2 separate regions of the Homo sapiens genome follow, and region 2 is linked to region 1. Evidence: promoter capture Hi-C in human tissues and cell types (Jung and others, 2019). All regions are on one chromosome and are shown on one strand. Each heading gives the region's core, a stretch centred on a gene start or on the middle of the fragment in contact. The rest is flanking DNA. Distances are from core to core; before and after follow the strand shown.

Region 1 (6,434 bases), core at 1,346-3,845:
CAGGAGGATTGCTTGAGCTCAGGAGTTCAAGACCAGCTTGGGCAACACAGAGAGACCCCATCTCTACAAAAAATTTAAAAATTAGCCAGGTGTGGTGGCGTGTGCCTGTAGTCCCAGCTACTCAGAGAGATGAGGTGGGAGGGTCACTTGAGTCTGGTAGGTAGGGAGAGGTTGCAGGGAGATAGTGTCAACGCAGCATGTAAAACAGAACAAGATCCTGTCTCAAAAAACAAAAACAAAGGCCGGGCACAATGGCTTATGCCTGTAATCCCAGCACTTTGGGAAGCCGAGAGGGGCAGATCACTTGAGCTCAGGAGTTTGAGACCAGCCTGGCCAATATAGTGAAATACCATCTCTACTAAAAATATAAAACTTAGCTGGGCGTGGTGACGCACGCCTGTAGTCCCAGCTACTCTGAAGGCGGAGGCAAAAGAATCACTTGAACCTGGGAGGCAGAGGTTGCAGTGAGCCGAGATTGTGCCACTGCACTCCAGCCCGGGTAACAGAGCGAGACTCCGTCTCAAAACAAAAACAAAAACAAAAACAAAAACAAAAAGCCTAAAAATACTGACTGGGTCTTCCCCACCAGGATGTGTATAAGACAGCCTTCCACCTTATGACCTAGCTCAGACTGAAGATGACCAGGAAATTAATAAGTATTGGAGAATTATCTGCCCATAAGCCCAGATGTGGGCTGGATGCAGTGCAGAAACAAAGGAAGTACGTTTTTAAAAACGAATTTGAGAATGCTGTCAAAGGGTGGATTGGATTGCATGCAATTTTAATCATGTATTTATACTCAAAAAGTAACCCTGGCCAGACACAGTGGCTCTTACATTTAGCAAAATACAAGCAGTATGATGGAGGTCTTACCTGATTTTATTTCCAGTTTTCATCCGAATCCACTGGGGAATGGGACGATTTTGCTTTTGTTTCTTGGCCAGGAATCGCTTAATCCTGAAAGTCTTGTGAGAAGACTGGGAAGAAAATGCAATCAATTTAGACAATATTAGAGCCTGCCCGAATGATTCAAAGTCAAGAACTCCTTCAAACCAACATTTGAGTGCTTAACACATACCCCAGCCCCAAAATCTTCTCAATGCTAAGCCATCAAGCCAAGCAAGTCTCTGACCCTCACAACTTCTCTGGGGGCAGATACCACAGTTTCCATCGTTCAGATAAAATAAGTGGAATCCGGTTAAGAAACATGCACAAAATCAGAGCATCAATGTGCAGAACCAGGATTCAAACCCAGGTCCTTTCTGCTCCACAGCCAGAGGCTACCTTTCAATTTACCCTGTGGTCCCCCAAGGACTCAGACGACCACACTGGGAATGGCTAGGGAATCTGGCTTCCTGGGAAGAACACAGCTTTGAGTCAAACAGAACCACCTACCTACCATTTGCAAGTCAACGAATCTCAGTGCTCTACTTTGTAAAACAGGGGTACGTACTTTTCAAGTGTTATTGGGAGGGTAATTAAGACTTAGGGAAAGTCCCTGACATTCAGAAGATCTAACCTACTCACCATTTCGGTATTAATCCTAACTCTATCTCTACTGCTAAATTTCACTGGCTAAAAAAATAAACTTTTAAATTTAAAAATAAATGAAATGTCACTTTTCCAAGGATGACTGTCTCAATTTCTAGTTGCATCTTTTGGCTTTCATCTAAGGCCAACCCCAATACTCCCCCAAATCTACAGAATAATCTTGCAAAATTGGCACGGATGCAGGTTTAATGCCTGGCCAACCTGGACGAACATACCCTTGCATAATAATGGGAGCCAATACAAAGAAGGCAAAGATTACACCCCGTCCCCCATCCACAGTAGCAGTTGTAAATTTTGTCAAGTAATAAATTACTTGACAAGTAATAAAATACCAGTACTTATCGCCTCCATATCTAGAAATCAACATTTTACATTTCCCAGTAAAGAGTGACTGGTTCGCTGCTGCCATTTACTAAGAAGGCCAGAATGACACACAGGTTCGCAAAACACCCCTTGTTCTAGGCGCTTCCACGGGGTGACGCTCAAGTCTCTGAATAAACGTCCTCTAAACAAAAGTCCTGGGATCTAAAAATGCGGTTCGCTTCTCCACGCCAAGCTAAACCCTTTTCGAAAACCAGTAGCCCACAATACCCTCCTGATTACCCTCCACGTTGCGCATGCCACGGGCAGCCCACAGTCAGGCCACGATTTCGGGGGTGGCTGCCACCTCCCACCCCCCGCCTCCAGAACGAGTTCGCTACAAGCGAAGGGAAACCGGAATCCCTGCCCGACTCGGCAGCGGCCGGGCAAAGAAAGAGCCCCCTTGAATCCGCGGCCGCAGCGCAGCCCGTCCCTCTCCAGGTTGCTCGCTGGCTCACTAGCTTCCCTCCAGGCCACGAAAGACAACAGTGGCCGAACTGGATATTTTCTTGAAAAAGCCTTTAAAAGGCTCCCGCCCCTCAACGCTCCGCGCGGCCCAGGCATTTCCTGGCAGCGGCCTCGGGTTTTGGGAAGCCACCCCGGGGCCGATGGGGGCCGATGGACTTACCATGGCGAGCAGCGGAGTCAAGAACACACCACGATGGCGGAGAAAGGAAGAGGAGGGAAGCTGGCGGAAGAACGAGCTTAGAAGGCGCTTCCGATGGGCGGAGTTTAGGAGGTGACGCTATGCACCGACCGCCTCTTCTAGTGCCTTCTCTGTCTAGCGGTGCGCTCCCGTGGCGCCGTGGGAAAGCGCGCTGGTTTCTGCCAAATGCAGTTAGCTTTGCTTCGCTTCCCTAAGTGCGTTCCCCCAGGGGCCCGGCAGTGTGCTAGGGGCACCCTGCTTCGTAAGTGAGGCAGACAGCCCGTGATAAATGCCAAAGTAGAAGCCCCTCCGAAAAATTAAGGAGCCGATTGGGCGGGACTAACCCTAAGGGAGGGCAGGGGAAGCGACCGTCACCTCCGGGCGCCGGGGACTCGGAACGCCGGGTCGGAGCTCGGCAGGCGGAGAGTAAGTGCCATTTTCCCAGAGGGTTACGAGTCATTTCGGCCTGGCTGGGAGGTGTGGGAAGGGACAGTCGTGTCGGAGGAAGCCGGAGAAGTTGGAGGGGGTTGGACCACGTGGACGCTTATGTAAGCCTAGGGGTTTTCGACTAGGCGGAAGGTTGCCAATCAAAGTTTTCAACTCAGAAAGTTAGGGACAGAACCTCTTCCTTGGCTGCTAGAAGTCCAGCCTGACATTGTAGCCCGCCTTTGGCAAGATGTACAATAATTAATAACATGCGTTTGGGATGCTAGTGTTCCCCATTTTCATCCTTTTCCCCATTTAAAAGCAAAAACCTTTCCTTTTTGATGAGTAAATAAAATAAACATAAAAATAAGCTGGGCGTGGTGGCTCACGCTTGTAATCCCAGCACTTTGGGAGGCCTAGGCGGGCGGATTACTTGAAACGAGGAGTTCGAGACCAGCCTGGCCAACATGGTGAAACCCCGTCCCTACTAAAAATACAAAAAAACTAACCAGGCGTGGTGGCGGGCGCCTGTAATCTCAGCTACTGCGGGGGCTGAGACAAGAGAATCTCTTGAACCCTGAAGGCGGAGGTTGCAGCGAGCCGAGATTGCGCCACTGCACTCCAGCCTGGGCAACAAGAGCAAAACTCCATCTCAAAAAAGAAAAAGTAAATAAATAAACGCAAAAACCTCCATGTATATTTGCAGTCACCTCAAGCATTTTTACACCAACGGATTACAGCAAGGGTTTTTAACCTGGAGTCCACAAGAGTCCATGTATAGAATTCAGAGGATCCCATGAACTTGAATGGGAAAATACAACTTTATTTTCACCAAATTTAATGAAATGTAATGCTTTCTTTATTTAGGAATGTAGGCAACAGACCACAGTGGCATTAGCAGTACTCGTGACTTGGTCACTAATAGAAACCATAGATGGCTTCATGTTACATTACAGTTGATGCAGATGTCTCCATATATTATTTACACACTCCCTTTAAATTACATTAGTTATAAGTTCACAAATAGAACTATGTTAAGAAGCCCATGTATTACTATAGCACATATTTCCTTTTTTTTTTTTTCAAGACTGAGTCTCCCTTTATTGCCCAGGCTAGAGTGCAATGGCACAATCTTGGCTCACTGCAACCTCCGCCTCCCGGGTTCAAGTGATTCTCATGCCTCAGCCTCCCGAGTAGCTGGGACTACAGGCACGCACTACCACACCCAGCTAATTTTTGTATTTTTAGTAGAGACGGAGTTTCGCCATGTTGGCTAAGCCGGTCTCGAACTCCTGACCTCAAGTAATCCGCCCGCCTCGGCCTCCCAAAGTGCTGGGATTACTGGAGTGCGCTACCGTGCCCGGCCTAAAGTCACATTCTGAGGTCCTGGGGATTAGGGCTTCAACACATGAATTTTGGGGGAACATAATTTAGCTCATGACACCACCAGTCACCTTCTAAGGCCGAATTCAAATGCTGTCTCTTCCCCTTAGCTGGAAATCATCACCCCTTCAACACTGTTGTAATAGTTTATTTGTACCTTTCTTATGGCTCCTAGCACTATCTGTTCTGTTGCAATGCAAAAGGATGAAAGTAACAGTGGCTGCTGCTTATGGGGCTTGATAGTTACTATGTAGCTGCATGTATTAATTCAAGCCTCACTGTGAGCTTACCATGTTTTACCAGTGACCTTTTGAATCTTCACCAGAACACTACAAGGTAAGTATGGTTAATCATCCTCATTTTACAGAAGAGGGAACTGCAACAGGGACAGATTAAGTTGTATACCCAAGGTCACACAGCTACTATGTTGCACAGCCGGTACTCAGACTCAGGTAGTCCAGGCTTCAGAGTCTGTGCTGTCACCACTACCCTCTACTGCCTTTTCAACACAGATTTTGGGAACCTACTCTGTCTGGTTCGGGTCTTCGTGTTGGGGGTACAGAAGCAAACAAATCTGACCAAAAATCCCTGCCCTCTTGGAGTCTTGTGGCGATGGTATGGTTCTGGATTTTTTTGTGGTGGGAATTACACAAAGCTACACGTGTGATAGAATTTGCCAAGTGTGGTGACTCACGTCTGTAATCCCAGCACTTTGGGAGGCTGAGGCGGGCGGATCACCTGAGGTCAGGAGTTCGAGATCAACCTGACCAACATGGTGAAACCCCGTCCCTACTAAAAATACAAAAATTAGCCAAGTGTGGTGGCGCGCGCCTGTAATCCCAGCTACTCAGGAGGCTGAGGCAGGAGAATGGCTTGAACCCGGGAGGTGGAGGCTGCAGTGAGCCGAGATCGCGCCACTGCACTCCAGCCTGGGTGACAGAGCGAGACTCTGTCTCAAAACAAACAAAAAAAATTAGCCGGGCATGCTGGTGCGTGCCTGTAGTCCAAGCTACTCAGGAGGCTGAGACAGAGAGAATTGCTTGAACCCAGGAGGTGGAGGGTGCAGTGAGCCGAGATCACAACACTGCACCCCAGCCTGGGTGACAGAGTGAGACTCTGTCTCAAAAAACAAAAACAAAAAAACAAAAAAAACAATTCTATACAACTCCCCCCTGCCCACCCCTGCCCCAAGGGGCATATGTATAACTGGTGAAATCTGAATAAGCTCTGTGGACTGTGCCAACGTGAATTTCCTGGTTGTGATATTGTACTATAGTTATGCAAGATGCTAACACTGGGGAAAACTAGATAAAGGGTACACAGGGCCTCTCAGTCCCTTTCTTTGCAACTTCTTGCGAATCTATTGTTATTTCAAAATACAAGTCTAAAAAAACTCTGCCTTCATTGAGTTTAATTATAGTGGGGAGTTAGACAACAAATATGTAAATTACATGGCACATCAGAAGGAGGTGTCATCAAGAAAAGCAAAGCAGGGGCCAGGTGCAGTGGCTAACACCTGTAATCCCAGCATTTTGGAAGGCTGGGGAAGGAGGAATAGTTGAGACCAGGAGTTTTAGATCAGCCTGGACAACATAGTGAGACTCTCTACAAAAAATACAAAATTTAGCCACTGGATGTGGTGGCACGTGCCCGTAGCTCCAGCTACTTGGAAGGCGAGAAGGGAGGAGCGCTTGAGCCCAGGAGTTCGAGGCTGCAGTGAGCCATGATTGTGCCACTGCACTCCAGCCTGAGCAACAGAGTGAGACCCTGTCTCAAAACAAACAAAAAATTGAGGGCTGGGCGCGGTGGCTCACGCCTATAATCCCAGCACTTTGGGAGGCCGAGGCGGGTGGATCACGAGGTCAGGAGTTCGAGACCAGCCTGACCAACATGGTGAAATCTCGTCTCTACTAAAAATACAAAAAATTAGCCGGGTGTGGTGGTGGCGCCTGTAATCCCAGCTACTCGGGAGGCTGAGGCAGGAGAATCGCTTGAACCCGGGAGGTGGAGGTTGCAGTGAGTGGAGATCATGCCACTGTACTTCAGCCTGGTGACAGAGGGAGACTCC
Region 2 (5,944 bases), core at 885-3,384, 37 kb before region 1:
CAGTAAAGACAGGGTTTTACCATGTTGGCCAGGCTGGTCTCGAACTCCTGATCTTAGGTGATCTGCCCGACTCAGCCTCCCAAAGTGCTGGGATTACAGGCGTGAGCCACTGTGCCTGGCCTATTTCATTCCTTTGTATGGCCAAATAACATTCCATGGTATGGATATACTATGGATATCGGGATTGTTTCTACCTTTTGGCTATTGTAAATAGTTCTGCTGTGACCATTCATGTATGAAAATGCATATTTAATGCTTGGCACAGGACCTAAGTCACCAGCCACCTAAGTGCTTAATGAACAGTAGGCAGCTGTAATCACTGTTATTACAGAGTGCTACGTTAGGTGATCTGGGGTACAGGATGCCTGGATGTCAGAAATAGATGGCTGAAGGCGCCAAGGACAACATTTACCCACTGCACAATTTTATTAAGAGCTGTTCCTGTCAGCCGTACCCAAATGTACAGTATGGCAGCATCAAACAGAGGCATGAGCACGGACCCTGCTCTACCACTTTCGAGACGCGTGACCCTGGGCAGGCCACTTAACCTCCCTCAGCCTTGTGTGTGAATTGCATATAAATACTGTCTTCTCTACATATCTCACAAGCTTGCTGTCTGGGTCAAGAGATAATTAAAAATATGAAAGCACTCTGAAAACTAAGAGTTTATTATTCCAAGCCTTACGTATGACAGAAGCCAACTGATAAAGTAAGGAAGGAACCACTTTGTACTGCTCACTGGCCTCCCCCTCTCTCCTGATGGTTCACATTCCTTTCAAGATGAGGCCAGCCCCCTCACCCCTAGGGCTAGTACCTTCTTCCCAGCAACTACTTAAGGGCCAATGACCTGCTCCAGGGTAGAAGCCTGAATTCATATAAACAAAGGGCTTATTGCTGGGCGCAGTAGCTCACGCCTGTAACCCCAGCACTTTGGGAGGCAGAGGTGGGTGGATCACTTGAGGCCAGGAGTTCAAGACCAGCCTGGCCAACACAGGGGAATGACATCTCTACTAAAAATACAAAAATTAGCTGGGTGTGGTGGTACACACCTGTAATCCCAGCTACTCGGGAGTCTGAGGCAAGAGAATCGCTTGAACCTGGGAGGCAGAGGTTGCAGTGAGCCGAGATCGTGCCACTGCATTCCAGCCTGGGTGACAGAGTGAGACTGTCTCAAAACAAAACAAAACAAAACAAAACAAAAGGGCCTGTTGCTGGGCGCGGTAGCTCATGCCTGTAATCCCAGCACTTTGGGAGGCTGAGGTGGGAGGATCGCTTGACCCTAGGAGTTCAAGACCAGCCTGGGCAACATAGCGAGACCCTGTCCTAAAAAAAAAAAAAATTAAACAAAGGGCCTGCCATGCCTCTTTCGTTGCCTACAGGTTGAAACAGACACAGCCTTTCTACTTTTCTCAGTTGCTAGTTGGTCAGAGCGCCCTCATGTGTCTCCATATGGTAATACCTTAAGTCTTTTACAGGATGTGGCATTCTTTTAATCTCAGTATCAATAAAATGTGTAATGGAAATTTTTTTCTCGTCACACTTCAAAGCCCATGCTTGACTCTCAGGCTCCAATTAAGCCATTCCAGCTTGAGTTTAGGCAGGTTTCCTGCTTCCACTCAGGCCTACAGATTTCTTCCTGCTCCCTGCCCACCCCTTTCTCCTTAGTCATTTTTAGAAGCCCTGGTGTCAACTTGGTTCTACCACTTTCTACTCTTCCAAGCTCAGTAAGCTCTCAAAATAAGATTGTAAGTTCTTTTTTTAACTGGATACATCAGGTCTTACTGCAGGATTGGCGGGGGAGGGGGGTGGGAAGGTGGGGGTAATTCCAAAGTACTAGGAAATAATTTTTAAAGTGTTTACCAAATATGACTTGTTCCATAGTCTAAGGAAAAGGGATCCAAAATGAGATCTCATGTAAAGGTCTGACATTTGGGAAGGGGAAAGTGATGTTTGGCAGAGTACATACACACAGACACATACACATTATACACACAACCAGACAGTGATGTCTGGTACACATACATACCACTCAAACATCCATTCTTGCACACACATTCACATGCAAACAGAGAGAAAGGAGCTCTCTCTCTTTCATAGGTTTCTCATTGAGAATCATGATGATATCAGCACAGGTCTTTGGAGGAAAGGAAATTTACATTCTATATCTGGAACCCCAAGAATGTTCCAGCCGTGTGTGGTGGCTCACACCACCGGGTGTGGTGGGAGGCCAAGGTGGGTGGATCACTTGGGGCCAGGAGTTCGAGACCAGCCTGGCCAACATGGTAAAACCCCGTCTCTACTAAAAATACAAAATTTAGCTGAGAATGGTGGTGCACGTCTGTAATCCCAGCTACTCAGGAGGCTGAGGCATGAGAATCACTTGAACCAGAGAGGCGGAGGTTGCAGTGAGCCGAGATCACACCACACTGCACTCCAGCCTAGGCAACAGATGGGACTCCGTCTCAAAAAAAAAGAAAGAAAGAAAAAAAAAAGAATGTTCCCCATTCCCTCCATGACCGAGGGTTATGGACGCCTGAGGGACTTTACTTCCCATATTCCACACATCTGCTTCTCAACTGTTTTGCACTCATGGATTTTTCTGAATCCATAAGCCCCCGGGGCAAACTCCATTGAGAGCCCAAGGATACACCAGCATTTGGCTTCGCCCAAGGAGCATGTTTCTGAGAAGTTTCATGTAAATTAAATTTTTGCAGATCAACTATGATTTCCTACTGACATCCCCTAAGATTTCTGAGCTGCTCTCTTCATCAAGATAGATTTTCAGTGTACGCCTAACACATCAGCTTCTCTGTTCCTCTGCCTTCTGCCATGCTCCCTGAGTTAGTTAAACCTCATCTGGAAAATAAAGGCCAATGAAACATTAAGATCTCTTCTAGTTCTTTTTTTTTTTTTTTTTTTGAGACGGAGTCTCGCTCTGTCACCCACACTACAGTGCAGTGGCGTGATCTCAGCTCACTGCAAGCTCCACCTCCCGGGTTCACGCCATTCTCCTGCCTCAGCCTCCCGAGTAGCTGGGACTACCCACCACCACGGCCGGCTAAGTTTTCGTATTTTTTAGTAGAGACGGGGTTTCACCGTGTTAGCCAGGATGGTCTCGATCTCCTGACCTCGTGATCAGCCTGCCTCGGCCTCCCAAAGTATTGGGATTACAGGCATGAGCCACCGCGCCCAGCCGATCTCTTCTAGTTCTAATAGTCCAAGATCTAGTAAATAAACCCACAAATATATTAGAGAGGCTGCTATTTGGAAAAGACATCAGTATTATTACAATTTGCAATGCAAATATCTACTCTACCTCCAGCTTTTTGGGAAGTCATTTCCCAGGGCTTGAGGGGTTTTTGCCCCACTCCCTTGGAGGGGTAGCAGATGTTTCAGATAACTGGCATGTTAATTTTAGGTGGGTGGGTACTATCCCTTCTGTTTTCCACTCCCTCTGCCCTACTCCCTGCTATCAAATTCCTGAGACCCTCTCTACTAAAATAGAGATGGGTGTTGCGGTTCTGGGGAGTGGTGTGTGCAGCTGGTGACCTAGGGTAGAAAGCACTTGCTAATTAAAGATGAAACAAGTTGCTAGGGAGGCACCGTGGCTTTGGTCTCTAGCAGCAGAGTTAAGCAAGGGCACATGTATCATGGGTCTGTGGCACTGGTCAGGCGGCTGCCTTTGCAATCTTTGAACTGGAAACAGATATTATTCATGCTGATAGGGAAGAGAGTTGCCTGCTTAGTGGTGACGAAAATTAATAGTCCAAGCATTCTTCCATCCTGCATTTTCCATGCTGGCATTTTGACTTAAAAAAAAATATTGCTGCAGCTGTTTGCATATTCTGGAAGTGTGTGTGCCTGTGTGCGGTTTGGTGTTTACAGATCTGGGGTTGCGGAGAGGAGTCTCCAGAGCAACGGAAGTAGCTGCTTGTCAGTCAGGATTCATTTTGAAAATGAAAGCCTGAAAGCTTGGGGCCCATTCTGGGCCTAGGCCTGGTCTCTGAGAAGTCAGCGAAGGCCAGGAGGTGGCTTTGGCCAGTCAACTCAGTGAATAAACCACTGAATCTCTTTTAAAGAAAAATGAATTGACCAAATCTATGAGTTGCTTTTGATGTCCTGCAGATTGGAGTCTGGAGCAGGGATGTGGGAGCAGGCATTGAGGTGCTGATTGTGGATACATGTCCCCCGCCCCCAACATACACACACACAATCACATTTTCCCAGCCTGCCAAACCAGAACAAGGTAACAAATATTTCTTGGATAACTACTAGGTGCACAAGGATAGTATGACATAGCTGTCCAAGAGTTTATAGTTTAATTGGCATATGAGAGCAAGGGGAGAGAGATGTAACACAAGGCAGTCTTGGGGCCAAAGAAGTAGCAGAAACACAGGGCTGGGGAAAGAGAGGGATCACTTTGGGCTGGGATAATCAGAGGAGGCTTGCTAGAGGTGGAAACTAAGCGCAACCTTGAAAGAAAAGAACTTCACTACATAGAAGCTCTTCCAGGCAGAGGAGTGTAAGTTATAGATACGCTCACGTTACAAGTCTATCCTTTTGGCTGGAATTTGGGGCTTGTATGTGATTTGCAGTTGATAAGCCAGGCTTGAATGCCAGTTCCTGTGTACCAGAACAAAGGCTATGGTGTCGCACAGACCTGCTCTGCCACTTCCTGCTGGGTGACCTTGAGCAAGTAGCCTAACCTCTCTGCAAACTGGGGACAGTAATGATTCCCAGCACTTGAGGTCACTGGGAGGATTAAAAGAGTTAACATATATAACGCAACAAGCACAGTGCCTGGCACATAGTAAATGTTCAAAACCAAATTACAAATGCATAAACTGTTCTGAAGGAAAGCTCTAGATATTTAGGACTTGTTCCAAATACGTGAGGGCCAAGGAAGAAAAGCTTCCGATACCTTCTATCACTGCTGCCACAGGTGGCCCCGAGGGAGTGGGCTGATTTGGCCTGAGCCTCCATCCCCCTTGGCCTAGACTGCTGGAACAGTCTTCCGACTTCCTGCCTCTGCACCTCCCAAATCACCTTTTTAACACAACCTCCATCATGGCTGTGTCTCTCCCCGGCTCAACAATCTTCTATGGCTCCCCGTTGCTCACTGACTGAGCTCCTTAAGATGCTGGGGGTGTGGAGGCAAGAACCACTATTTACTAAGGGAAGGGAAGAGCAAAGAGTACGCTGGTATTAGGAGTGAAAAAGAAAAAATATCCTTTTTTAAAAAGCCCCTAAGCTTTGAATTTGTAGAAAGCGGGGCCCTGGGGAGAGAGCAGGGATGCATCTCTAAAGAGAACAGGGCGCTCCTGCGGCGCCGGCTCAGATTCACCTGTAGCTGCTTCTCCAAGCCAACCTGGGAAAATTGACGGGAGGGAAGAGGGTGGAGAGCAGGACAGAGAGGGCGGTGCAGAAGGGGAATATCCCTCCTGAGTTCCCTGGAAGAGCGTCAGCCTGGACCCTGGTCTTGGGCTTCTCTGCTGGAATCCTGGGCAGCCCCGGGTGCTGCGGCGAGGGTCAAGGCCACACAAAGGGCAAGGCAGGCAGACGAGCCAGTCACATGGGGCAGTCGAGCTGCCTGCGTGAATGCTAGGCGCGGGACAATGGCAACTCCGGGACAAAGTGCAGGGAGACTCCTGAAGAGATAAGAGGGAAGGGCGAAGGAAGGGGGCGGGGAGCCAGAGCCTCGGAGCTCCAGGACCGCGCTTTGGGAGACCGTGGCTGGAAGCCGAGCTCGGCCCGCTGCGGAAGGGGCGCCCTCGCGCCTCTACACTCTAGCCCCGGCTGGGATGCTGAGAACCGCGGCTTCCAGGGCCGCAGGCGAGCTCCCAGCCAGTCCCCGCGCCCGCCCTTCGGTGCTGGAGGCGGGGCTGCCGAGCTCACCTGGCCGTTTGGGGTGGGACCGCCCGCGACCCGGGGGAGCTGCAGAGGC

The links. The method cuts DNA at HindIII sites, captures the fragments that hold promoters and counts their contacts. A contact is called where the count stands out against the background at its distance.
Region 2: a fragment that was not itself captured here is called in contact with the fragment with the promoter of RPL39 in region 1 in 1 of the 25 tissues and cell types used here (pancreas).

What each region holds. Positions count from the first base shown.
Region 1 is chrX:119,789,035-119,795,468 of GRCh38, forward strand. It overlaps RPL39 (ribosomal protein L39), which reads right to left and starts at 2,596. Exons shown (of 3, transcript NM_001000.4): 1 at 2,540-2,596; 2 at 874-977. The coding sequence starts at 2,542. It overlaps LOC107985694 (a long non-coding RNA gene), which reads left to right and starts at 2,682. Exons shown (of 3, transcript XR_001755949.2): 1 at 2,682-2,983; 2 at 4,542-4,702. RefSeq lists enhancers at 402-461, 2,331-2,590. The HindIII fragment of the contact is 28,989 bases long and covers 1-6,434 here.
Region 2 is chrX:119,752,450-119,758,393 of GRCh38, forward strand. No RefSeq gene overlaps it. Among named protein-coding and RNA genes, the nearest start is that of SOWAHD, 3.2 kb to the right of the region's middle. RefSeq lists enhancers at 3,663-3,722, 3,733-3,932 and a silencer at 5,889-5,944. The HindIII fragment of the contact is 5,893 bases long and covers 1-5,081 here.